Regions from separate parts of the Homo sapiens genome. Here regions 1, 2, 3, 4, 5 and 7 are each linked to region 6. Evidence: promoter capture Hi-C in 16 types of primary human blood cells and fetal thymus (Javierre and others, 2016). All regions are on one chromosome and are shown on one strand. The core of a region is centred on a gene start or on the middle of the fragment in contact, and the rest is flanking DNA. Distances in the headings are between cores, read along the strand shown. Region 1 overlaps LRRC23 (leucine rich repeat containing 23). Region 2 overlaps C1S (complement C1s). Region 3 overlaps LOC105369632 (a long non-coding RNA gene). Region 4 holds the start of TPI1 (triosephosphate isomerase 1). Region 5 overlaps PLEKHG6 (pleckstrin homology and RhoGEF domain containing G6). Region 6 holds the start of CHD4 (chromodomain helicase DNA binding protein 4). Region 7 overlaps LPCAT3 (lysophosphatidylcholine acyltransferase 3).

The links. Contacts are between HindIII fragments. The CHiCAGO score rates a contact against its expected background, and 5 or more counts as called.
Region 1: a contact is called between a fragment that was not itself captured here and the fragment with the promoter of CHD4 in region 6, in 5 of 17 cell types (naive CD4 T cells, activated CD4 T cells, non-activated CD4 T cells and 2 more). The highest score is 9.1, in naive CD4 T cells.
Region 2: a fragment that was not itself captured here is called in contact with the fragment with the promoter of CHD4 in region 6 in 1 of 17 cell types (activated CD4 T cells); the score reaches 6.8 in activated CD4 T cells.
Region 3: a contact is called between a fragment that was not itself captured here and the fragment with the promoter of CHD4 in region 6, in 3 of 17 cell types (naive CD4 T cells, total CD8 T cells and activated CD4 T cells). The highest score is 6.3, in naive CD4 T cells.
Region 4: the fragment with the promoter of TPI1 here is called in contact with the fragment with the promoter of CHD4 in region 6 in 2 of 17 cell types (activated CD4 T cells and naive CD4 T cells); the score reaches 7.5 in activated CD4 T cells.
Region 5: a fragment that was not itself captured here is called in contact with the fragment with the promoter of CHD4 in region 6 in 4 of 17 cell types (total CD4 T cells, naive CD8 T cells, non-activated CD4 T cells and 1 more); the score reaches 7.0 in total CD4 T cells.
Region 7: a contact is called between a fragment that was not itself captured here and the fragment with the promoter of CHD4 in region 6, in 1 of 17 cell types (activated CD4 T cells). The highest score is 5.9, in activated CD4 T cells.

Annotation. Positions count from the first base shown.
Region 1 is chr12:6,909,136-6,912,304 of GRCh38, reverse strand. LRRC23 (leucine rich repeat containing 23) reads right to left here. Exons shown (of 8, transcript NM_001135217.2): 6 at 2,279-2,415. Among named protein-coding and RNA genes, the nearest start is that of ENO2, 3.9 kb to the left of the region's middle. The HindIII fragment of the contact is 2,135 bases long and covers 612-2,746 here.
Region 2 is chr12:7,065,597-7,069,076 of GRCh38, reverse strand. C1S (complement C1s) reads right to left here. Exons shown (of 12, transcript NM_001734.5): 7 at 3,107-3,260; 8 at 2,444-2,559; 9 at 1,960-2,038; 10 at 1,306-1,434; 11 at 547-621. Among named protein-coding and RNA genes, the nearest start is that of C1S, 6.6 kb to the right of the region's middle. The HindIII fragment of the contact is 335 bases long and covers 1,819-2,153 here.
Region 3 is chr12:6,885,234-6,888,727 of GRCh38, reverse strand. All of the region lies in intron 1 of LOC105369632 (a long non-coding RNA gene), which reads left to right. It also overlaps the pseudogene DSTNP2. Among named protein-coding and RNA genes, the nearest start is that of SPSB2, 14 kb to the right of the region's middle. RefSeq lists an enhancer at 2,027-2,574. The HindIII fragment of the contact is 1,590 bases long and covers 1,423-3,012 here.
Region 4 is chr12:6,866,053-6,869,468 of GRCh38, reverse strand. It overlaps TPI1 (triosephosphate isomerase 1), which reads right to left and starts at 1,938. Exons shown (of 7, transcript NM_000365.6): 1 at 1,788-1,938; 2 at 482-605; 3 at 286-370; 4 at 79-211. The coding sequence starts at 1,902. It overlaps USP5 (ubiquitin specific peptidase 5), which reads right to left. Exons shown (of 20, transcript NM_001098536.2): 20 at 2,837-3,416. The coding sequence ends at 3,392. RefSeq lists silencers at 1,332-1,771, 2,042-2,091 and enhancers at 2,361-3,022, 3,023-3,416. The HindIII fragment of the contact is 21,039 bases long and covers 1-3,416 here.
Region 5 is chr12:6,321,298-6,324,817 of GRCh38, reverse strand. All of the region lies in intron 13 of PLEKHG6 (pleckstrin homology and RhoGEF domain containing G6), which reads right to left. Among named protein-coding and RNA genes, the nearest start is that of PLEKHG6, 12 kb to the right of the region's middle. RefSeq lists enhancers at 1-261, 262-803, 1,247-1,336, 1,387-1,456, 1,345-1,886. The HindIII fragment of the contact is 1,382 bases long and covers 1,294-2,675 here.
Region 6 is chr12:6,605,413-6,608,846 of GRCh38, reverse strand. CHD4 (chromodomain helicase DNA binding protein 4) reads left to right here and starts at 1,468. Exons shown (of 40, transcript NM_001273.5): 1 at 1,468-1,547; 2 at 2,396-2,573. The coding sequence starts at 2,474. It overlaps LOC124902867 (a long non-coding RNA gene), which reads right to left and starts at 2,961. Exons shown (of 2, transcript XR_007063193.1): 1 at 2,852-2,961. RefSeq lists enhancers at 848-997, 2,738-2,897 and silencers at 1,588-1,687, 2,098-2,157, 2,338-2,387. The HindIII fragment of the contact is 30,599 bases long and covers 1-3,434 here.
Region 7 is chr12:7,006,296-7,009,405 of GRCh38, reverse strand. All of the region lies in intron 1 of LPCAT3 (lysophosphatidylcholine acyltransferase 3), which reads left to right. Among named protein-coding and RNA genes, the nearest start is that of LPCAT3, 11 kb to the left of the region's middle. The HindIII fragment of the contact is 186 bases long and covers 1,158-1,343 here.

The sequences.
Region 1 (3,169 bases), core at 430-2,929, 300 kb before region 6:
GCGTGATGGCATACACCTGTAGTCCTTGCTACTTAGCTGAGGAGGAGGGATTGCTTGACCCCAGGAGTTTGAGATTACAGTGAGCCGAGATCGAGCCACTGCACTCCACCCTGTAGGACCTAGGTCAGTGGACAAGGAACTGGGATCTAAGCTGGAGTTTAGGGTGGTGGATGCTCGGTTCGTGCTCTCCACAAAGAGAACCTAAGGCTATGGATGGGTTGGAGCCTCCCAACCTGAAGAATAAACTTCATCTCCTAATGTGCCTCATTATATGATACTCTGTTTTTATTTTATTTTTATTGAGACAGGGTCTCACTATGTCACCCCGGTTGGGGGTGCAGTGGCATGATCATAGCTCACTGCAGCCTTGAATTCCTGGGCTCAAGTGATCCTCTCACCTTAGCTTCCTAAGTACCTCCAGGCATGTGCCACCACACCTGGCTAATGTTTAAATTTTTTGTAGAGACTGGGTCTCACTATGTTGCCCAGGTTTGTCTTGAACGCCTGGCCTCAAGCAGTCCTCTTGCCTTGGCCCCCCCAAAGTGCTGGGATTACAGGCGTGAGCCACCATGCCTGGAATTTTATTTATTTTCATGTTCTGGCTTTAAGCTTTTATGAAATCTATTTAAGTGTTTCAGCCTGATCTCATGGTCGTGCTGAGCCTCATGCAGTGTTTCTCACCAGGAGGGCTACAGGAACTTTGTACTGGACTCTGCCATACATTGTTGGATGCTTAGCATCTCTGGCCCCAGAGGCACCTGCCAATCATTGAGACACCCTCACCCCCCTCCACACACACACCCGACTTACTCTCAAAACATCCCCATTTAATAGCCACTCAGGAAGGGTCCATCATGCCTGTCTAGATCATTAACAGGAAGATGGCACAGATACACACCCCACCAGATCCGTGTGGCAGAGTTCATGAATAAGAGAATGCCCAGGGGGTCAGGATGAGAGTTGGGGCTTCCAGATGCAACCACCTCTCCCTACTTGGAGATGCTCTTTCCATTACCAGCTCAAGAATCTGGTCTTGTTGACTAAGGAAAGAGGCAGTTTCCTTACATGTTTGCTGAAATAAACACACATAAAGTCCTCCATCCGACAAGAGTTGCTGATCTTCAGTGCCTTTCTACCAAAAGATTTTCTTACAAATGTCCTTCTCTCCTCAAATCTGAGCACATCTTGTGTTTTTTTAATCAGTAAAAAGGTCATCCCTTACAGGTGGGGCTCAGGAGAAGAGAGGCAGGAAATGGGAAGGTGAATTGGGACCGAGGAAATGGAGAAGGGCAGTGGAAACTTATATAGGATAGGGTGAGGAAAAAAGAGTTGGAGCCAGACTGTGAGCCCCTTAGGAACAGGAATCACCTCTGATTCCTTTCTTTCTTTTAGAGACAGCTCACTCTGTCACCCAGGCTGGAGTGCAGTGGCACAATCATGGCTCACTGCAACCTTGAACTCCTGGGCTCAAGTGATCCTCCAACCTCAGCCTCCTGAGTAGCTGAAACCACAGGTGTGCACCACCAGGCTCAGTTAATTTTTATTTTTAATTTAATATTTTAATTTTTATTTAATATTTTATTTTTGTTTTGTTTTTGAGGCAGGGTCTGGCTCTGTCACCCAGGCTGGAGTGCAGCGGCTTTATCTCAGCTCACTGCAAACTCCACCTCGAGGCTCCAGCGATCCTCCCGCCTAAGTCTCCTGAGTAGCTGGGATTACAGGTGCCTGTCACCATGCCTGGCTAATTTTTGTATTTTTGGTAGAGATGGGATTTTGCCATGTTGCCCAGACTGGTCTTGAACTCCTAGGCTCCAACGATCTGCCCACTTCGGCTTCCCAAAGTGCTAGAACTACAGGTGTGAGCCACCATGCCGGGCCATTATTTTCACTTCTGTAGAAACATGGTCTCACTAGGTTGCCCAGGCTGGTCCTGAACTCCTGGCCTCAAGTGATCCTTCCTCCTAAAGTGCTGGGAGTACAGGCATGAACCACCATGCCCAGCCTCTGATTGCTTTAAATGTCCCCAAAACACAGCACAAGGCCTGGCACATAGCACATTCTCAATAATTGTGGATTGAATGAATAAAAATTCAGGGGTCACAAGCTATAAGGGATTTAGTGTTGCAACTCAGTGCAGAAGAAAGGAAGGAAAGCCGGGCTTTCCTTGAGAATCCAGCTGTGGGCTAGGACTGGGGGATTGGGCCAGGGAAGAACACAGACTCAAAAGCTGCACCTGGTCAGGGGTAGGGGCAAGGTGGGGCTTGGAGAGGGTGCATACCTCAGGTTGAGGTACTGCAATGATTTCATTTCTCTGGAGAAGCCACTCAGGGTGTCAATCTGGTTGTCTCGAAGATGCAAGGTGGTGAGATTGCTCAGATCCTCCAAGCCTTCCACCTTCTTCAGCATGTTTTGGGCCTAGACCCCCAGGGCACAGTGGATTGATTGAGAGGGAGCAGGGATAGGGAAGAAAGAGAAGTCAGAATGAGATAAAGCAAAAGAGGAAATCCAAGAGGTAGAGAGGGAGGAGTGGAAGAAAGGAGTGGGGGTGAGTAGAGATCAGTATAGAAAGTAAAGAAGTTCAGGAGAAGCTGCCATCCCAGAGAAAGGTCAGCAGTAACCCTCTACCATTCGCCCCATCAAAGCCACTTGGGATGGAGGAGATGCTTCAACCCACCCCTACCCGGCCCAGGAGCCCCCAGGCCACCACTGAGGATTGGCATCAGCACCATCCCAGAATAACGAAGCTTAAGAGTCTAAAAGACTAAATATTTCAGTGGCTTCCTGTGGAGTTATTATATATATAATATATAATATATTATATAATATATAAAATATATATTATATATTATATATTATATACTATTATATATAATATTTATATATTATATATAATATACTATTATATATAATATTTATATATTATATAAAATATATTATATATAATATACTATTATATATATTTATATATTATATATATTATATATAATATATACTATTATATATATTTATGTATTATATATAATTATATATAATATATTATATATAATTATATATAATATATAATTATATATTATATCTAATTATATATATTATATATAATTATATATTATATATAATATATAATTATATATTATATATTTTATATATAATATATAATATATAATATATA
Region 2 (3,480 bases), core at 737-3,236, 460 kb before region 6:
ACCTAGCTCACAGGGCTGTTATACGGACACGAATGAGATAATAAATGCAACAAATCAGCTCAGTCTTCAGCTTTCAGTACCACCCAGGATGGTTATTATCCTATTGGATTTGCCTCAGCCTTCTGCTACCCAACTCTTATCTTCCTCATTCTTTGAATTCCTCTATATCTTGCTGCCCTATAAACTTTTAATATAATAACTAGGCTATTTAGCTAGACTTGTTTCTGAGTGTTGATTACTCACACACTCTCAGCTTTCAGGCCCTGTTTTTAGCAGTTCTGTATCTTCTCACTGCAGCTACATTACCAGACACCAACTGTCGCTGGCTGACGTTTCTATTTCCTTCCAGTTGGCCTGGCTTCAGTGCGGCTGAGGAGGTTCCCCACGGCCCTGGCAGCCCACGGCACAGTGATACTGCCACCTCACTGAGCTGGACTCTGGCAGGTCACTGTTCAGTCCTTTCCCAAGAGGATTACAGTTGCTTTCAGAAGGTGACTCCCAGTCACCCATGGCTATCATCTCTCCCCAAGCCTCAGCCCTCCTTACCTGGAACACATTTCGGCAGCTCCGGGCCCAGCACCTCATTCACCCAGCTCCCGTTACCAGCACAGTGATACTCCCCTGGAATAGCACAGAGAACACAGGCCACACTCACCACCACATCTTCCTTCTTCCATTCCCCCCTCCGACCCCAACACCCTGCCCCGTTCCTTCAGAACCTCAGCTCGTCTAGGATTCAAGTAGTAAATCAGATTAAATCAGCCAGAAAAAAAATATCTTCCTCCAAACAATCCCTCAGGCCTCTAGCCTGCCAGGGAGACAAAGGGAACATCTCCAAAGCAGAAGGAAAGAAGGCATCGGGAAAGTGGCGAAATAAATACAGAGCAATGCAGAGAACGTATTAGGGTCTCATTCAGCCCTGCACCTAGCATGACCAAAGCCTCTACATCAAGAAAGCCAGTCAGTGTAGTTTGGTGGCTTAAAGCTGAAGGCATTGCTCCTGTGGGTTTTACATGAAATAACTGGTCAAAAGGTGGGTAATCCCATGAAATGGATGTTGTAGGGGAATTCCTGCTGCAGCTGTGAACTCAGTTGGTGACCTCTATGATTCCCTGAGGCTGATGCTCCCCTGAACTTGCCCTGCTCCAGATGAAAACTGTATCTTTGGACGAAGCCAAGGGGATGAACAATGTCTGTCCTATCGCCTTCATTTGTCTCCAAACTCTGTCTCTGGCACAGATTATGCTATCCACCCTCCAACACCTTCTCACTCTCTCTCTCTCTTCTCCAGTAGAAGAAACCTACCACCTCCTCCATTTTCCATGTAGTAATATGGCTCCTCACAAGTGTAGCGGATGACAGAACCAAACAAAGTGCTCTCTGGGTCTTCAACTTTACCATTCTCAATGGATTCAGGAATGCCACAGTCCACAGCTACCAGACGAAGGAAGGAGAGCGATGGTCAGGACAGCCACTTCCTCCAAGGAAGAGTCATGGGGCCAGGTTCATCCTCACTGCTTCCCCACCCCATATCCACAGGCACACCTGGGATGAACCTCCCCACACCAGCCTCTCTGTGGCCATCCTCCCCAACTGGCATCTCTCAGCTCTCTCACCCGCTGAGATGCCAATTCAGATGGCCCCATGAAAGCCGTAGTGAAGAGCCTGGTTCTCAGTGGTTGGTGAAGGCCCAGTGGAAGCCACAAATGCACCCACGTGGGGCTACTAACTCGACCTATCCCATAGCCCCTTTCTTGGAAAGAAACATGCCGATCTAGTTGGCCTGGGACCAGATGCGGGGCTGGGACTAGAAAAGCTTCCATGACTGGCTTCCCTTCAAAAACCCAACCCACTCCCTCACATGCCTAAGAGGAAACCATGCATTTGAATTTTGATGTGCTGATCTTTCCATTCTCTCTGAGAGAAAAAGAAAGACTTCCACTTTGAAGAGACACATACGTTGACATTTCAGTTTGGAATTACTCCACTTTCCATTGCTTTGACAAGTCGAATAGAAAGATGTTGCACCAACACGTCCCTGGAGAATAATAAACATCACCACTTATTTCTGAAGAGAGATATGGGAAACCAAAATCAAAACTGGAATTGATCTCTGGCCTTGGATCAATGAGGAGTCCTCACCACAAGAAGCTTGGGAACATCTTAGCAGACCTAAAGCACCCAGGAGATGAGGCTGACAGAAAGCTTTGCCCCAACGTGTCAACTCCCCTTCCTCAAGAAGACTGAAGGCAGAGAGAATGCCAAGCTGGCCAGGCAGCTCCATGACTCACAAGGGAGAACTACAGATCTTAAGCTGTTGTGTTTATGGGAAAGGTGTTATACCTTGATCACACACATACATTGGGTAAACAACTGGACAATTTCAGTCCGCTCATCCTGATCTGGGGCCAGGGACTGGGGAGAAGCCAAGGTGGTACTTTACCTCCACAACTTCAAACCCATCCAGACAGGTTATCTGCACCACATCTCTAAAGACATATTTTGCCTTCGCAGGCTCCCAAACAGAATTGGGAGTGTCTTCCTTAGGGCAGGGCATTGCTTGAAAGAACAGAAGTTGGGACAGGAGGAAAAAATTACTAAATAGTTGAAGACTCTCATTCTATTTACATCATTCTCACACTTTCTAAAATCGTCCAGTTGTCCTCAATCCTGATGCTTAACATTCCAATACAGCAGATGTCTAAAATCATATGGCATTACCAACTAACCACCCGCAAGCTGTCTGCAGTCTCAGGTCTAGTTAAAGGATTACTAGAGGTTGAGGCATTTCTAGCAACCGTTGACTGGTTTAGATTTTCCTGAAGAAGTGAAGTATCTCAGGATTCTATCAGAACAACAATCTATCTGTTTTTTAAATTATTGTTGCTTTGTTTTTGTTTTGTTTTAGAGACAAGGTTTTGCTCTGTTGCCCAGAGTGGACTCAAACTCCTACTTCCTGGGCTCAAGGGATCCTCCTGCCTCAGCCTCCCTCGGTAGCTGAGATCACAGGTGCTTCCAGTGTGCCTGGATCATCTACCTGCTTTGATCCCACATTGTTTGGGGACTTTGGTATCACCAACCAAAGAGGCACTTCTAAGTTACTCACGATCTCCATGATAGCGAAGTTTCCAGCCCTTTTTTTGCCCTGTTAGATCAGTTTGGAAGATGATATCAAGAGCATTACTCTTGGTTTCAATATTTAGAGGCCCAGGGAATCCATGACCACAGTAAGGACCAAATTGCCGATCTCCTGCAACAAACTGAACAAAATGATGAAATCAGAAGAGGGAAAGAACTAAAGGGAAGAGGTAAAATTGGGAAGTGGGAGATACAAATAAAAGAGGCATTAAATGTCACATAAAATAAGAAGAAAATAAGGGTCAGGAGAAAAGATAATTTTATCTTCAGGCTGAGTGCAGTGGCTCACACCTATAATCCCAGCACTTTGGGAGGCCGAGGTGGGAGCATTGCTTGAGGCTA
Region 3 (3,494 bases), core at 968-3,467, 280 kb before region 6:
TTCAGTTTCAAATATCTTCATTCTAGAAGTCAAGCAGGACCTCAAAGAGAAAAAATCTGGCTTTGTGCTGCAGGACACAACAATACCACACTGATGTACCACACACTTTATGAATGTGCTCATAAAGGCGCTGAATGAAGGTTTCCTGTCCCAACATGACTCCATCCTTCACTCTGCTGATCTAAGCATTATTTGCTGTTTCAAAGCCACATACATTAGGCTGAGATTCTCCCTTGACTCCCAGAGCCATGGATGCTGACCCTAATCTTAATGTGGTAAAGATCTGGAAGTCCTTCCATATTGCTAGTTGCATCATTTCTATTTAAACAGGCAATGGGAGGCCAGGTGTGGTGTCTCACGCCTGTAATCCCAGCACTTTGGGAGGCTGCAGATCTCTTGAGTCCAAGAGTTCAAGACCAGCCTGGGCAACATGGCAAGACCTCATCTCTGCAGAAAATTAGCTGAACGTGGTGGTGTGCACCTGTAGTCCCAGCTACTCAGGAGGTGCAGGCAGGAGGATCACCTGTGCCTGGGAAAGTTGAGGCTGCAGTGAGCCATGCTCATGCTACTGCACTCCAGCCTGGGTGATACAGCAAGACCCTGTCTCAATAAATAAATAAATAAACAAACAAACAAACAAACAGGTAATGGAAGCAACGAAGCCTGACAGTCAATGCATGTGGAATGTGTTCAGAATTTTAAGGGTTTCTTTCTCTTTTTTTTTTTTGTTTTTTGTGTTTTGAGACAGAGTCTTGCTCTGTTGCCCAGACGGGAATGCAGTGGTGTGATCTCAGCTCACTGCAACCTCCACCTCCCATGTTCAAGCAATTCTCCTGCCTCACCTTCCCAAGTAGCTGGGATTACAGGCATGTGCCACCATGCCTGGCTAATTTTTGTATTATTAGTAGAGATATTATTTTACATTATTAGTATTATTTCACCATGTTGGCCTGGCTGGTCTTGAACTCCTGACCTCAACTGATACACCCACCTCGGCCTCCTAAAGTGCTGGGATTACAGGCGTGAGCACCGCGCCTGGCCAAGGGTTTCTATTGACAAAGAAGTGAAACTCATTGTGCAAGTCGCCTAGCAAGTGGATCGTGATGGCTTTGTTTATACATCATTGAGGAAGAAAGTAAAGAACTTCTTGGCCTGGCCAGGTATGGTGGCTCATGCCAGTAATCCCAGCACTTTGAGGGACTGAAGCCGAGGATCCCTTGATCATGGCTCAAGGTGACAGTGAGCTACTTCGCCACTGCACTCCAGCCTGTGTGACAGAGTAAGACCCAGTCTCTAAAATATAAGGAAATAATCATAAAAATAAAGAAGTTTTTGAGAGCCACAGAGAAACACTAATAAAAAATCTTGAGGAACTGATAAAAATCACCCTCAGGAGAAAAAGGAAAAGACCAAACTAAAGCTTCATAAATTTACTGAAGTGTTTCATGCTGCAAAATGTCTGAATAATTTTTTTTTTGCATTATTCCTGATATATTACAAGTCCTCAACAGGGCTTTATTTTTTTTCTTTTCTTTTCTTTTCTTTTTTTTTTTTGAGACAGAGTCTTGCTCTGTGGCCCAGGCTGGAGTTCAGTGGCACAATCTCGGCTCACTGCAACCTCTGCCTCCCAGGGTCAAGCAATTCTCCTGCCTCAGCCTCCCTCGTAGCCAGGACTACAGGCACACGCCGCCATGCCTGGCTAATTTTTTGTATATTTAAAGTAGAGATGGGGTTTCACCGTGATGCCCAGGCTGGTCTTGGACTCCTGAGCTCAAACAATCCACCCACTTTCGCCTCCCAAAGTGCTAGAACTACAGGCGTGAGCACCGCGCCTGGCTATTTTCTTTTTTCTTTTCTTTTCTTTTCTTTTTTTTTTTTAAAAAAACAACTTTAGACTTTAGATATATGTGGGGAAAAGCAAAAGAGATCAGATTGTTACTGTGTCTGTGTAGAAAGAAGTAGACATAGGAGACTCCATTTTGTTCTGTACTAAGAAAAATTCTTCTGCCTTGAGATTCTGTTAATCTATAACCTTACCCCCAACCCCGTGCTCTCTGAAACATGTGCTGTGTCAACTCAGAGTTAAATGGATTAAGGGCGGTGCAAGATGTGCTTTGTTAAACAGATGCTTGAAGGCAGCATGCTCCTTAAGAGTCATCACCACTCCCTAATCTCAAGTACCCAGGGACACAAACACTGCGGAAGTCCGCAGGGACCTCTGCCTAGGAAAGCCAGGTATTGTCCAAGGTTTCTCCCCATATGATAGTCTGAAATATGGCCTCGTGGGAAGGGAAAGACCTGACCATCCCCCATCCCGACACCCGTAAAGGTTCTGTGCTGAGGAGGATTAGTAAAAGAGGAAGGAATGCCTCTTGCAGTTGAGACAAGAGGAAGGCATCTGTCACCTGCCTGTCCCTGGGCAATGGAATGTCTTGGTATAAAACCCGATTGTATGCTCCATCTACTGAGATAGGGAAAAACCGCCTTAGGGCTGGAGGTGGGACCTGCGGGCAGCAATACTGCTTTGTAAAGCATTGAGATGTTTATGTGTATGCATATCTAAAAGCACAGCACTTAATCCTTTACATTGTCTATGATGCAAAGACCTTTGTTCACGTGTTTGTCTGCTGACCCTCTCCCCACAATTGTCTTGTGACCCTGACACATCCCCCTCTTCGAGAAACACCCACAAATGATTAATAAATACTAAGGGAACTCAGAGGCTGGCAGGATCCTCCATATGCTGAACGCTGCTTCCCCGGGTCCCCTTATTTCTTTCTCTATACTTTGTGTCTTTTTCTTTCCCAAGTCTCTCGTCCCACCTTACGAGAAACACCCACAGGTGTGGAGGGGCAACCCACCCCTACAGATATATTTAGGGCTGTTTGCATATGTTTATAGAGTATTTAGTTTACTCTAAAAGATGACAAGACAGCTCCCCTCAGTGAGACCCTGGCCTAAATATATTTGCTTTATTTATATAGCAAGAGGATAACATTAAACGTGGAAGCTTTCAATTTGTGGCACTGAATGATGATCTACACAGGGCATCCTTCAAAGGCTACAATTAAGGATCCACTGGCCAGGCATGCTGGCTCACGCCTGTAATCCCAGCACTTTGGGAGGCCAAGGAGGGCAAATCACGAGGTCAGGAGTTCGAGACCAGCCTGACCAATATGGTGAAACCCTGACTCTACTAAGAATACAAAAATTAGCCAGGTGTGGTGGCGCACGCTATAATCCCAGCTACTCAGGAGGCTGGGCAGGAAAATCACTTGAACCCGGGAGGCAGAGGTTGCAGTGAGCCGAGATCCTGTCACTGCACTCCAGCCTGGGCGACAGATCAAGACTCCATCTCAAAAAAAAAAAAAAAGGATCCACCTAACTTTTCAGCAGTACAAGCCCGATTGAGATCTTCTGGTCCGTTTGTTTGCCATTCATGTTTTATGCCTTGAAATTTCTTTTTGATTGCATCCTTGGAGCTTGTATAGATC
Region 4 (3,416 bases), core at 689-3,188, 260 kb before region 6:
CAGGCTCCAGGGCCTGACCCTACCCTCTGAGTCTCTGTGGCCCTGGATAGGCTCAAAGGTCCCTTTCTCCAGAGATACCTGCGATGACCTTTGTCTGCTCGAAAACAACCTTCTCAGTGATGCCAGCTTCCCTTTCATCTAGCTTCTCCCCAATGCAGGCGATTACTCCGAGTCCCTCTGCCAGAGCATGGGCCACTTTCTGCCCAATCAGCTGTTGAGAAACAGACTTGGTGAGACATCCTTCTTGGAAAAAGACATCCCTTATCTTCTCTCTTGGCTACTAACCTCATCTGACTCCCCAAAGACATGCCTTCTCTCTGAGTGCCCCAGGACCACCCACGTGGCTCCGCAGTCTTTGATCATGCCAGGGCTAAAGGAAGAGATGAAGCCAAGGTTCAGCAGGGAGCCCACCCTGTGGCTTTCCCCTCAACGAGGAAAGTGAGGGAAGGGTCCCACACACCCCTCTCCACCTCGATCTCACCTGATCTCCCCAGTAAAAGCCCCATTAGTCACTTTGTAGCAGTTCTGCGCAGCCACAGCAATCTTGGGATCTAGCTTCTGCCGGGCGAAGTCGATATAGGCAGTAGGGGGAGCACAAACCACCTCTGAGGACAAGATGGTACCACAGGGGGATGAGACTAAAGAAAGCCTTCATTCCCCACAATTCCTAACCAGTGCCCTGGAGCCCCCCAGCCCTCACCCTCTTCTTCTTGGTTCTGCTCTCCCCCTTTTCACCCCAGCAAGATGACCTTTGTCCATTTTCCAGCCCAGGCTGGGTCTGCACTCAACTCGAAGAGCCTTCCAGATACCCCTGAGAGGCCACGGCCCTCACCCTGCCCTCTGCTCTTTTAACAGCTGGGGCTCCAATTTCCTCGAGCTATTCTCGGCATAGGCACCTCACAGACTCAGCATTCTCCAGGGAGCAACCCTGCTTCCCTTCTAAAATAGCCCATCCTCACCTCCCCTTTGCAAGGCAAGGATTTGTAGCAAAAGGAGAGGGGCCAACTCCTGGGGTTTGTATTGAGGCCTCTGGGGAATGAACGAGAAGGGGATGCCTCTTTGGATCAGGCCCGCGGCTCTCCGATTTCGGTGGAGGGAGGAAGGAGGATGGAGGAGAGCATCCTTTGCCCGTGGGTGGCAGAGACCTAACTGACTCAGAGGCCTTGCGCTTTGCTGTTTCCAGGTTGGGGAAAGCGGTAGGATGGCTCCTCACTCCCAAATCGCTCAGCCTGTTTGGCACGGGCTCGGTCCCTTCCGTGGAAGGCGGGAGTCGTTCAGGTTGCCGAAGGGAAGGGGTCAGATCTGGGGCTCAGGGAGCCCGAGCAGCTCGGCGCGGGGACGCGGACGCCGGCGAGGAAGGGGAGGAGTCTGGGGCTACGTGCGGCGGCGCACGGCGCGGGAGGCCAGGGCGCAGGGAGCGGGAAGCCCACGCGGCCCAGCCTCCCCCGGTCTCCCGCAGAGCCTCGGGCTCCGCTCCTAACCCCGTCGCCTGGCGGGCACAGCCCCAGTGCGCGCCCCGGGGCCACCTTCCTCCAGGAGACCCAAAACGTCCTTACCTGCCCCATAGTCCAAGGGGCATCATGTGCTCCGCCCTGCCCCCTCGACGCACCGACGGGGCTGCGGCTGCGAGGCCCCTGCCCGGACCCCAGCGGCCCTCGTCCCACAGCCCTGCATCAGGTCCGCGCGGATACCGGCCTCGGGGCCTCGGGGCCTCGGGAGAGGGCGCTGCCACTCCTGCCCCGGCCCCGGCCCCGGCCCGGCCAGACCCCTCCTCGGCGAGGGCTTACCGGTGTCGGCCGGCACCTTGGCCGCGTTCAGAGTGCCGATGAGCTCCCCCAGACTCTGCTTCCGCCCGTTCATCTTCCAGTTTCCCCCAACGAAGAACTTCCTGGAGGGCGCCATGGCGCTGGAGCCGAGGCGCTGAAGGTCAGTGTCTGCGCGCAGTCGCGGCCACTGCCCACTTATATAGAGCGCCGCGAAGTGGAACTCCGCCTCCTCGCCGTCCTCCGCCATGGCCCGCCCAGTCCCCCGGAGCCCTGCCCCCCGCCCGCCCTCCTGCCGCCGCCCCGGCCGCCGCCCGATGATGCACTGTTCCGACGTTCCCCCTTCTTGTGGCAACGTTCTAGGAGAGTCGGGGGCTCGGTCGCCTCCGCCTCGATTGCGGGGCTTTCGGGACAAGGCGAGACCTGTGAGCTCCGGCGCTCAGGGGAACCCTCGCTTGGCGACTTGAGTCCCCCACGGGGCCAGAAGTGGTTTTCAAGCGGAACTAGCTGGTGGCAACTTGGCCGTAGCCCAGATCGCCCACTGGGGCAGAGAGGGCCCCTCTCCAACTGTGGGATAGACAACCTCCTTCGCCCATCGGAGCAGCTCATGCCCGACTGCTGAGCAGGCACCCTTGTACCCAGGGAGTCTACCTGAGTGAAAACTTGCGGGACAAATGCAGGGTTCACAGCGGGAGGGGCAGCCCACACAGGCATAGGCCGCCAGGATCATCCCAACCCTCGCCCCGGCTGGCAAGGCCTGGCAGGAACTGCAGGGACTGAGTCCCAGCCTGAAGCCAGCTAGCCAGTTAGGGACATTTGGGAAATCCTCCACTCCTGTGTGAATAAAGAGAGGGAAGGGTTCTTCACTCCATCTTTCCTTGGCTTTGTGTCGGCATTTAGTCACTCTACTCCACCTCCCCACCCAACCCCAATTTTCCTAGAGCTCTAGAACCAGTGAAAAGTGGAGACTTGACTTTGGCAGGGAGGCGGCCAGAGTTAGGAGTTTTCTTAAGCGCCCTCCTGCTAACCCCAGGAAGGTAAGCCTCTCCCCCAAGGTATCAAACAGGACACAATTTAGCCGTTGTACTTTTATTCACATCGTGTATTTTGGCATTTTCCAGAGAAGGACAAGGAAGAGACAGGGTGGGGGAAAGACTGAGGCAGGAGGGCAAGTCGGGGGGTCCCTATTTCCCTCACATCCCTCCTTGACCAACCACACAGGGGCAAACAAAGGGGGAGGGGAGGCACAGGTGATCGCTCCACTGGGAGAGGATGCACAAAGCTACACCCACGCGCACAAACGAGACCCCTCCCTCCACACCAGGGGGCTGGGCGGGGCGACACAGAGAAGCAGAGCACTGTGGATTCCGGGGGCAGGGGAAGCAACAAAGTCTCCTTACAGACAGGTGGCCGGCCCCTCCCGTCCCCGTCCTGCTCCATCCCCAGAGTCTATCGCTGCCCCTCTGCTCTGCCCAGCCATTCTCCCACGGCCTCCAGCTTCTTCCCTGCTGCCGGGGACAAAAGGAAAAAGGGTACAGAGCAGAGGGGCTGAAGTCCATCCCTCAGCCCCTCTCCCTCATGCCAGGTGGTCTTCCCCTGCCCTCATTGGTAAGGGGTGAGGCAGGCTCTTAGCTGGCCACTCTCTGGTAGAAG
Region 5 (3,520 bases), core at 735-3,234, 280 kb after region 6:
ACTTTCCCAAAGCCTCTCAAGAAACCCGGGGAGCAGCTGGGTCAGGACAAGAGACGAAATGGATGAACAGGGATAGGAAAATGACACCAGGCTTATAGTTCCCATTCTGCTTTTTCTGGCTCTCCAGTCACTTATTCCCAAGGCTGACAGCATTCTCATAAGATGTGGTCTGTTGGCCGGAGCAGGGGAGGGTACCTGGGGGTAGGAAACCTGCCAGGGCCGGGACCTGGGGCAGGACTCCCTCTTTCCCAGGCCTCATCTCCCAACTCCATGTGAAGGGAGGGAAGAAGTGAGAAAAGAGAGGGTGGAGGCGCTGGGCCGATCTGCTTGTCCTGCTGGGGTGCCCTTTTGCCCCACAGGACCCAAATTCAGGTTTGTGTTTCGGGTGCCAAGGAAGGGATGTTACGGGAAAGAAGAACTGGAAGGAAGCAGGGTTTCTGTAAGGGACGTTCAATGCCATCATCTCTGCTAAACTTGCCCCTTGCCCGACCCCAGGAAGAGGCTGGAGGAGGCGGCGGGGGGGGGAGGGGGGCGAGGGGGAGCCCCGAGTACGGGGTAGGGGGTCGGGGGAATGGGCGGGATGGGGCTCTTGGAGGTGCCTCCCAGCGAGCCCAAAGCCTCTCCAGCAACCCTGGGAGAATTTTCTCGGCTTGGTTAAGAGGAGAGACACATGGGGGCAGAGGGGACGGGAAAGGAAAAGGAAATTGGCGCTTAAGCCAGAATGTGACCCCCCTACAAAACTGAGAAGAGGAAGGGAGGGCCCCTAGCAGGATTCTTCTTCCTTTGTACCCATGGAGAGGAAATGCCTCCTTTCCCTGCTGTCTCTGGGGTGGCTCCTAGATTCACCCACTCTCCTCCCAGAACTCCCCAGTGCCGGACTAAAACCGAACTCTGAAACGTGCCCACTGACTTCCTGAGCAACAGATGCGGATGCGTTTCCCCAGTCAGCAGCAGGCCCTACCCAGGCCCCAAAGACCACCCCTTTCTTCTAATGATGACAACGGCAAACATTTATGGAGTGCCCATACAGTGCTGGGCCTTGTGCCTGGCCACTTGCGGACTGTCTGTCCTGCGTGCACTGCAACTCCCCAAGAGGTGAAGTAACTCCCTGACAGCTGCTCGGGCCTCTCCTTCAGACCCTGGCTCTTAGCCTCGGCTGCCTCCTTCAGTCTCCCTGCTTTAATTTCTTGGTCGCCATCTCTGACGGCTCTTTCTGTTCCTGTCTCTGTTCCTTTTCCTCTTCTCAGTCCCTGGGCATTCCCCAAGATTCAGTCTCTTCTCCCTGGAGAAGCTTACTTTCTCTAAAAGTGTGAGTCATCACAGCTAGACCCGCTAGGAATAAATCTGCAAGTCAACGTTTCTGCCAGGGTGAGAAAACAATAGTCTGCCCCCTGGGGATTGCTCTATGAAAGGGACCAACAGAGTTTCTACTGCCCTCTTCAGTGTATAAAGACTGATGGCTCTAGAGAGGATTCCCTAATAATCTGGTGTGAGACAATAGCAGGAAAAGTCATTTCAAAGTTTCAGTTTTCTTTGTTTTGCTAAGGAAGGCCAGGGAGCCTTGGTGCATATCTTGGTTATAGATCTTGACAGATCTTTCCTGTTAGCCTGGAGTGAGACTACCAGGGGACTGAGTTGTTTTGCATAGTAAAATACCCGTAATTTTCAGTAGCTCTTGGGATTCTGAAAGGGAGAAGGTGAGAGTCTGGCTGTTGTTCTGTGACTAAAAACCAAAAAAAAGAGGAGAAAGTTCTGAAGGTGGAGGTGGCAGTTCCGAAGGAAAAAAGGCAGCCTGCCATTCACTGCCAGCCCCACTGGCTATCCTGGGGAGTTGGGGCTCTAGGGACACCGATGCCACTAGCTTGCGCTTTTGTCCCTGGGCTCCCCCTTGAGCCTCTAGCCTTCAGGAAAATGTTTTATTTAACTTTTTTTTTTTTTAGACAAGGTCTCACCCTGTTGTCTGGGTTGTAGTGCAGTGGTGGGAACATAGCTCACCGCAGGCTCTATCTCCCGGGTTCAAGTGATCCTCCCACCTCAGCCTCCCGAGTAGCTGGGACTACAGGCATGCGCCACCAGGCCCAGCTAATTTTTGTATTTTTTGTAAAGATGGGGTTTTGCCATGTTGGCCAGGCTGGGTCTTGAACTTCTGGTCTCAAGCCATCTGCCTGCCTCAGCCTCTCAAAGTGCTGGGATTAGAGGAGGTGAGCCACTACGCCTGGCCAAGAAAATTTGATTAACCACCAGAATGATGTCACTTGCCAGTCAGTCCAGCCTAGTGGAAAGTGTGTTTAGGCTTAGGTGGAAGTGGTGGAGAGAAGTCCCTGCCATGCAGAGGGGACAGTGAACCGAGCCGGAAGCAGGGGACAGGGCAGATGGGAGACCACTGTCATCACAAAACCCACCTGCCTCCCCTTGGGGTGTGTTTTTTGTCCTCCTCTTTCACTTGAATTCCAGGTCTTTGTTTCTGTTTCTTTTGTTCCCAAAGCCCCTAAGATATCTCCACTAGGTTATATCTTGGCTGCCTCAATTTCAAAGCGCTGCTGTTTAAATATTCCTACAGTAAAGCCACCTCACTGAGGAAGCAATAACTAAACAAACACATTTCCCTTTCCCTTTCTAATGACTGCATTTCTGTCTGGGGTCCCATTGCCAATGCAGTGTTCCAAACTGAAGCTTCGGGAGGCCAACTGTGCTCTTTGCCGCTGGGTATCTGGAGTTCCTGAGCCTGTGCCCAGTGCTGGCCCCAGGCTGTGTGCCTAAGCCGAATGACAGCTTTGAATCTCCCTAGGAAGCAGGTAGTCATTGTGTATATCTGTTTTGCAGATGACGAAATTGAAGTTGAGGGAGGTCATATAACTTACCCAAGGTCACATGGCTAGGACCTGGTAGGACCGGTGTCTGAACCTGGATTTTTCTGAATTCAGTATAGACTTTAACCAAAGTATCCCTAAGGCTCCCCCTTCTCTTCCCTCTTCTTTTTTTTTTTTTTTTAAGACAGAGTCTCGCTCTGTCGCCCAGGCTGGAGTGCAGTGGCGCGATCTCGGCTCACTGCAAGCTCCGCCTCCCGGGTTCACGCCATTCTCCTGCCTCAGCCTCCCGAGTAGCTGGGACTACAGGTGCCCGCCACCGCGCCCGGCTAATTTTTTGTCTTTTTTAGTAGAGATGGGGTTTCACCGTGGTCTCAATCTCCTGACCTCGTGATCGGCCCGCCTCGGCCTCCCAAAGTGCTGGGATTACAGGCGTGAGCCACCGCGCCCGGCCTCTTCCCTCTTCTTTAGGTCCTTTCTTCTCCTTTGTTTTTTGTCCCTTTTTGCAATGTCTCCCTAAGGCTGTGGCACTAAACCTTCCATGTTTCACACCCAAACTAGTACAATAAACCTCCTGTCACCAATTTCTCCCTCCTCCAGCCCACCCAGCACACTGCTACCTGATTTCCTGAAAACCTAATTCAAGAGGAAACACACTGATTTCACCCTTGCTCAAGAATTCATGGCAGGGCTATGCACGGTGGCTCACGCCT
Region 6 (3,434 bases), core at 219-2,718:
ATCTGTCAGCTTGGTATTTTGGTTGGTTGGTGTTCCTCAAAACTTAGGAGCTGGAGGTAAGCATCTGGAAAATACCTAGATTTTGGTGGGACTGGGTGGGGCCCTAGGTGGGCTCCCAGCCCCCGAGTGTCTGGAAATGATGGTATGAGGGAAGCTGGGGTCCCAGACATCAGGAGGCTTTTTGCCAGGATACTACTTTGGCCCAGAAAGGGATTAAGGTGTGTGCAAGTGGGGGCGGGGACAAGGAAGCGTGGGTAGCCTGCCTGGCCCTCCCTGCTCTGGGTGTTAGAATAGACTGACAGCGCCTGGAGATGGGGGTGGGAAGAATATGAATATTATGGGATGCCTGGCTCGAAGGGTATAGGGGTGGTAGAGTGGAGATGAAGCATTATGGGATGTGACACTGGGTTGTGTTGGGAGTATTATGGTATGTTTGGTTGACCACGGGCTCCTTGCAATTATTATGGGATGTCAGGATGTGGGTAGGAGAGTAAAATTATTATGGGATAGCTTTCCAGTGTTAGAGGAAAAGAGATTAGATGTCCATCTGTGGGGCGACAGTAGGGCTGTTGATCATTATGGGTTATCTTTTTGATAGAGGAGGGGTACTTACTATAGGCTGTGGAGCTAGAAGAGGGAAGGCTGGGGGTGATGTGAGCCTCTAGACCCTGGCCTGCAGGGACTGAGGGCAGCTCTAGGGGGTTAGTTATTATGGGATGTCAGTATAGAAAGTGGGAGACTGATTATTACGGGATGTGTGTGGGAGGAGGCCGAGTGTCCGTTGTTGTAGTATGGGGGGGGGTGAGTTTCTGACTATTATGGGATATCAAACTGGGGGTGGATGAAGGATGGTTATTATGGGATGTCTGTGGGGGATGGGGCTGAATATTATGGGATATGAGGCATAAGTGCTGCGAGGGGTGCTTATTATGGGATGGCCATGGGGAGGGAGGGGTGATGAATTATTATGGGATGTTAGCATTAGGTCCAAGAGTGAAGAAGAAGTTGGCAAAGGATGTCTATTATGGGATGTCTAAGAGGGTTAGTTGCAAAAGGTCTGCAATATTTTGAGATGTCAGCAGTCTCTGGCATATGTGTATGAAATGTGGGGGGGCAGGGTGTGTGTGTGTTGTGTGTGTGTGTGTGTGTGTGTGTGTGTGTGTGTGTGTGTGTGTTGGGGGGGGGGGTGTCCGTGTGTATTATGGGATGGCCAGGAGGTGGGCGGTTGCCCAGGTGACGCGCGCGCGCCCGCTGCGAAGGGGGCGTGGCCAGTGGTTGCCTGAGCGACGAGGGGGCGGGGGTTGCCCGGGAGACCTGGGGAGGAGGGTGGCGGTAGTGGAAGGGGGGGGTTGGAGTTGGTTGAGGTTATTATGGGCTGTCCGTGGGGGGGCGGGGCCTGTGCGGTGGGATTTCCCGGCCGGTGTTTCAGGCCCTTTAAGAGGCGACGCTGGAGCCGGAGCCATTTTCCCCCCTTCGGCCGCGGCGAGGAGGAGCCGGAGCGGGAGTGACACCGAGCCGGACCCAGCGCGACCTGCGGCGGCTCCGGGGTGAGGAGAGCGCGGGGTTCCCAAAGAGACGCCCCTCACGGCCCTACCAGCCCCGAGGGTCATCCCGTCACCCGCCCCTTCCTCAGGCGTCTCCGGACCCGCGGACCGCCCCTTGCCCAGAGGAGCCGACCCTTCCTTTCCTGGCCCTGCAGGGCGCCCGGCCTCCTCCCCAGCCCCCGCCCTAACCCTGCCGGAGTCTTGCTCCCCGCGACCCCCCGCCTCCGGCTTGGTCTCCCACAATGCCCGGCGCCCACCCCCTCGCCCTTTGATCACTTGCCCCCCGGGACACGTGGCCCGGCCCCCTTCCCGGTGGGACGCTTTCGCCCCCCGCGTCCCTGCCTCCGGCCCCCCGCAGCGCCCGAGCCTCCACGCCCCCTCGTCCCCGCAGCTCTTGAGGAGAACCTGAGTTGTCCCAGAGGACAGCCTTTGGAGAGCTGCCCTGTCTGGGGACTGGCCCCTCCCCGGGCGCAGGGAGGCGCCCCCCCACCCCCAAGTGACCTTGTGTCCCCGAGCGCCTCGCCGCCTGCGGCCTCCCCTGGCCCCCCCGCGCCGCTGCCACTCGGACCCCCTCCCCCGTCACACCCCGCTCGGTCCAGCCCCGCGTCTCCCCTCCCCGCGCTTGCACCAGCCTGCCCTCGGAGGCGTCGCTCCCTCGCTCCGTGGGGGCGCCTGCCGGGGAGCCGGCTTCCGGGCTGCCCCCGAGGAGTGTGGAACTAAGTTCAGCCTGAGCGGTTCGGGTGCCCTGCTAGGGTGGCTGGGGTGGGGGGCGGAAAGAGCGGGTGGGTGTGGGGGAGGGGGACAGTGCGCGTCACTGACTGTTCTGTGTTTCTCCCCCCTCCCCCGCACAGTGACTCGGGCCAGTGTAGAGGTCCTCAGGCCGCCGGCAGGAGCAGCTGGGCCAATTCCCTGGCCGGGAGCGGAAGGGGATGGCGTCGGGCCTGGGCTCCCCGTCCCCCTGCTCGGCGGGCAGTGAGGAGGAGGATATGGATGCACTTTTGAACAACAGCCTGCCCCCACCCCACCCAGGTAACATCTTCCCCAAGGGCCCATGGCGGGAAGGAGACATCTGGGGCTCTCCCGAGTGACTCCTCTGGTGAGGCAGGGCTGTGTTGCTCCGCTGTCTCTGTGCAGAGCCGGAGGTGGAGGGTATCCGAAGGGAGTGGTTCCCTTCTGCGGAGCTCTGGTGTGAGGGGGGTGGAAGCCATGTGCCTCCTGGGCACGGAGATGCCAGCTTGCTGCACTCTGTCTTGAGGAATGCTCTGCAGTTCCCAGTTGAGGGAGCTCTCTGGGCTGGCAGGCATTACCTGGTATGTGGGTCCTCGGAGGAATGCAGGTAGCTGGGACCCCTGGAGGCTTGTGGTGGTGGTGGTGGAGGGGGGCGTTGAGGATTCTGTTTGAAAGACCAGCCGGGCATCTGTGCTAGTAGGATCCTGTGGTTGCTGCTGTGGAAAGGAAAGAGGGAGTGCTGGTTACACTCTATCTGATTATTTTTAGCTTCTGATCGGTTACCGGTTTTCTGTGCTGTCTGAACTGTGTGAAGTTTGAATCGCGCTCCTCAGCAGGATCTGGAGTGCTTAAAGCAGCCAGGCAGATTGCTGGAATGTTTTGAGTGGGGAAGTGATGGGGGCTCGGGGAGGATGTAATAGCCTAGTGAAGAGGGGCAAAAGAAGGGAGGGCACTCCTCCTCCTGGTGAGTGGACATAGTTTTGGCTTTTTTCCTAGTGGCTTCTGTCTCTATGAGGTAGCCTGCGGTTTAGGCTGGCAGTGTGAAGTGTCTGTGTAGGTGTGCTAGGGGTTACGCTATCTGTGTTTTGGGGTGGCTTCATGAACTGGCCAAACCCGTATGGTTGTAACCACCCTGTCTGATTGGGGGAACTGTTGTCTATC
Region 7 (3,110 bases), core at 1-2,500, 400 kb before region 6:
TTTGTAGTACTTGATGTCCTGATAGTACCTTTTTGGAATGTCATTGGCCAGGCGCGGTGGCTCACGCCTGTAATCCCAGCACTTTGGGAGGCCGAGGCAGGCAGATCACCTGAGGTCAGGAGTTGGAGACTAGCCTGGCCAACATGGTGAAACCCATTTCTATTAAAAAGATAAAAATTAGCTGGGCATGGTGGCACATGCCTGTAGTCCCAGCTACTTGGGAAGCTGAGACAGGATAATCGCTGGAACCCAGGAGGCAGAGGTTGTAGTGAGCCGAGATTGCACCATGGCACTCCAGCCTGGGTGACAGAAAAAAAAAGAAAGGTCATTGTATCCTGTACTCTTTGGAATAAACAAAACTCTTAGATTCCTTATGGTTTAGTTTTTCCCATTTGTAGGCCTGACAGATAGGAAAGTTGGGCCTACAAAAATTGAGTAACTTGCTTAAAGTCACATTCAGTTCTGCCTGACTCCAGAGTTCCTGCTCTGGATGTTATCTGAGGAATAAAGAGATGTTGTTGTTATTATGTTCACATTGTTATTATGTTCACATTGTTATTATGTTCATTATCATGATCATCACATACACCATCTGTTTCACACTTTTGATAAGAAGGTTAGATACAGAGGAGTTGTGTTTTTTGTTTTTTTTTTGAGATGGAGTCTCACTTTGTTGCCCAGGCTGGAGTGCAGAGGTACAATCTCAGCTCACTGCAACCTCCACCTCCGAGGTTCCAGCAATTCTCCTGCCTCAGCCTCCGGAGTAGCTGGGATTACAGGCGTGAGCCACCACACCCAGAGGAGGAATTTTTTTAATAAGGTTATTGGACTAATGGCTCCATCTTTTTTGTGTTGCATCAACCACCTTAAGCAATATAGCATTCTCCTGATTGATCTCCTTACGTTTCTTAATATAAGTAATAAATTGTGACTTGTAGCTTTAACAAAAATTAGGTTCCCTAGTTGCAGCTGCCAGGGAAAGCTAGTCTAATATCAAAGCAAACCATCCTTCTTCTCAAGCACAGAGTTTTTAAGATAGGAGTGTGTGTGTATTGACATTTTCCTAGCAGTGGCTGAAGTCAAGGACCAGGAGATTTAGGGCCCACTTGGAGTTCTTATGGTGAAACAGTAGTAGCTTCCTAGAGACCTTTAAAGCTTATCTGTAATTTGTATAGTTCAGAAGATACTGTATACATCATTATTTCTCCCTGCTTTCAAAACAGGAAGGGGGTGTGGAGAGTAACACACTAAAAAAAGGATAAGTAATTAATTTCTGGGTAAGAATTTCCTTTTGGCTTAAAATGGACTGATGGTGTAAGTTCCTCCCTTTGCAAGCAGAAGCTTTGAAGATAGTGAGCTAGATGAAGCTCTGGACATCTTGAATGAAGTATTCTGTATAAGAACCAAGTGTATAATAACTGTTAGTAATAGAGGCTGCTCATAGAAATGTCATTGCATTATAATTGTAGGGACAGTTTGTCAGAGAGTAGGTAGAAGATTATCAGACCCAGGTTTTGTTCTTGGCTCACATGAAGTCATCAAGTAGGCTATTTAAATGCTTCACTTTAACCATAGGCTAAGATTAAATTAAAAATAAAAAGCTTTTGTCATGGCCGGGCACAGTGGCTCATGCCTGTAATCCCAGCACTTTGGGAGGCTGAGGTGGGTGGATCACCTGAGGTCAGGAATTTGAGACTGGTCTGACCAACATGGTGAAACCCTGTCTCTACTAAAAATACAAAAATTAGCCGGGCACGGTGGTGCACGCCTGTAATCCCAGCTACTCGGGAGGCTGAGGCAGGAGAATCGCTTGAACCTGGGAGGGGGAGGTTGCAGTGAGCCGAGATCGTACCATTGCACTCCAGCCTGGGGGACAGAGTGAGACTCCGTCTCAAAAAAAAAAAAAAAAAAAGCTTTTGTCAATTAAAGATGCTTGTCAGTACTGAGTATTCATGTTGCTATGGCACTTTTATAAGAAAACTGTACACGGTCATATCTGCTTCCGAAAATAATACATAGTGAGATAGTAATTTTACAGGCAATTAAGAATTTGCTGGCCAGGCGCGGTGGCTTACACCTGTAATCCCAGCACTTTGGAAAGCCAAGGTGGGTGGATCACCTGAGGTCAGGAGTTTGAGACCAGCCTGGCCAACATGGCGAAACCCTGTCTCTACTAAAAAAAAAAATCCAAAAAATTAGCCGGGCATGGTGGCAGGCGCTTGTAATCCCAGCAACTTGGGAGGCTGAGGCAGGAGAATCACTTGAACCCGGGAGGCAGAGGTTGCAGTGAGCCGAGATCGCGCCATTGCACTCCACCTGGGCAACAAGAGCAAAAACTCCGTCTCAAAAAAAAAAGAATTTGCTATAATAGAAGATCCATGTGTACATTCTGTATGCAAATCTTAGGAAGATATTAGATCCCAGAAGGTTAAAGTTCCGATCTCTATATATTTGTATATGCTTTAAGGAGAAGTGGCATCCATGTAGATGTGGTAAATGGCTTATAACTCTCGAGGTTTCCAATTTCTGCTGTGGTAGCAATTCTAAACTCAGATGGACTTGGACACTACTCTGGATTACTGTCCCTAAATATCAACTACTGTTTATAAGCCAGCAGAGGCCAACTGAAATAGTACACATAAAGTTCCTACAGCATATCCCTCAGTCAGAAGTGGAAAAGATTGATTAAAGTTGGAGTATAAACATATGGGGCCCTGACCAAAAATATTGAACCGTACTACTAGAAATCCCCATTCTTTAGCTAAAGGATAATCTGACTTCACTTTTAATTCTTCATTGACTATTGGTGCTCTGAAAGAATAGGAAATAATAGCAAAACATGGGAACTCCTAGATAGCATACATTTATTTTTAAAATGTATACCATCGGCCAGGCACCATGGCTCACGCCTGTAATCCCAGCACTTTGGGAGGCCAAGGTGGGCGGATCATTTGAGGTCAGGAGTTGGAGACCACCCTGGGCAACATGGTGAAACCCCATCTCTACTAAAAATACAAAAACTAACTGGGTGTGGTAGCACACACCTGTAATCCCAGCTACTCAGGAGGCTGAGGCAGTAGAACTGCTTGAACCTGGAAGACAGAGGTTGC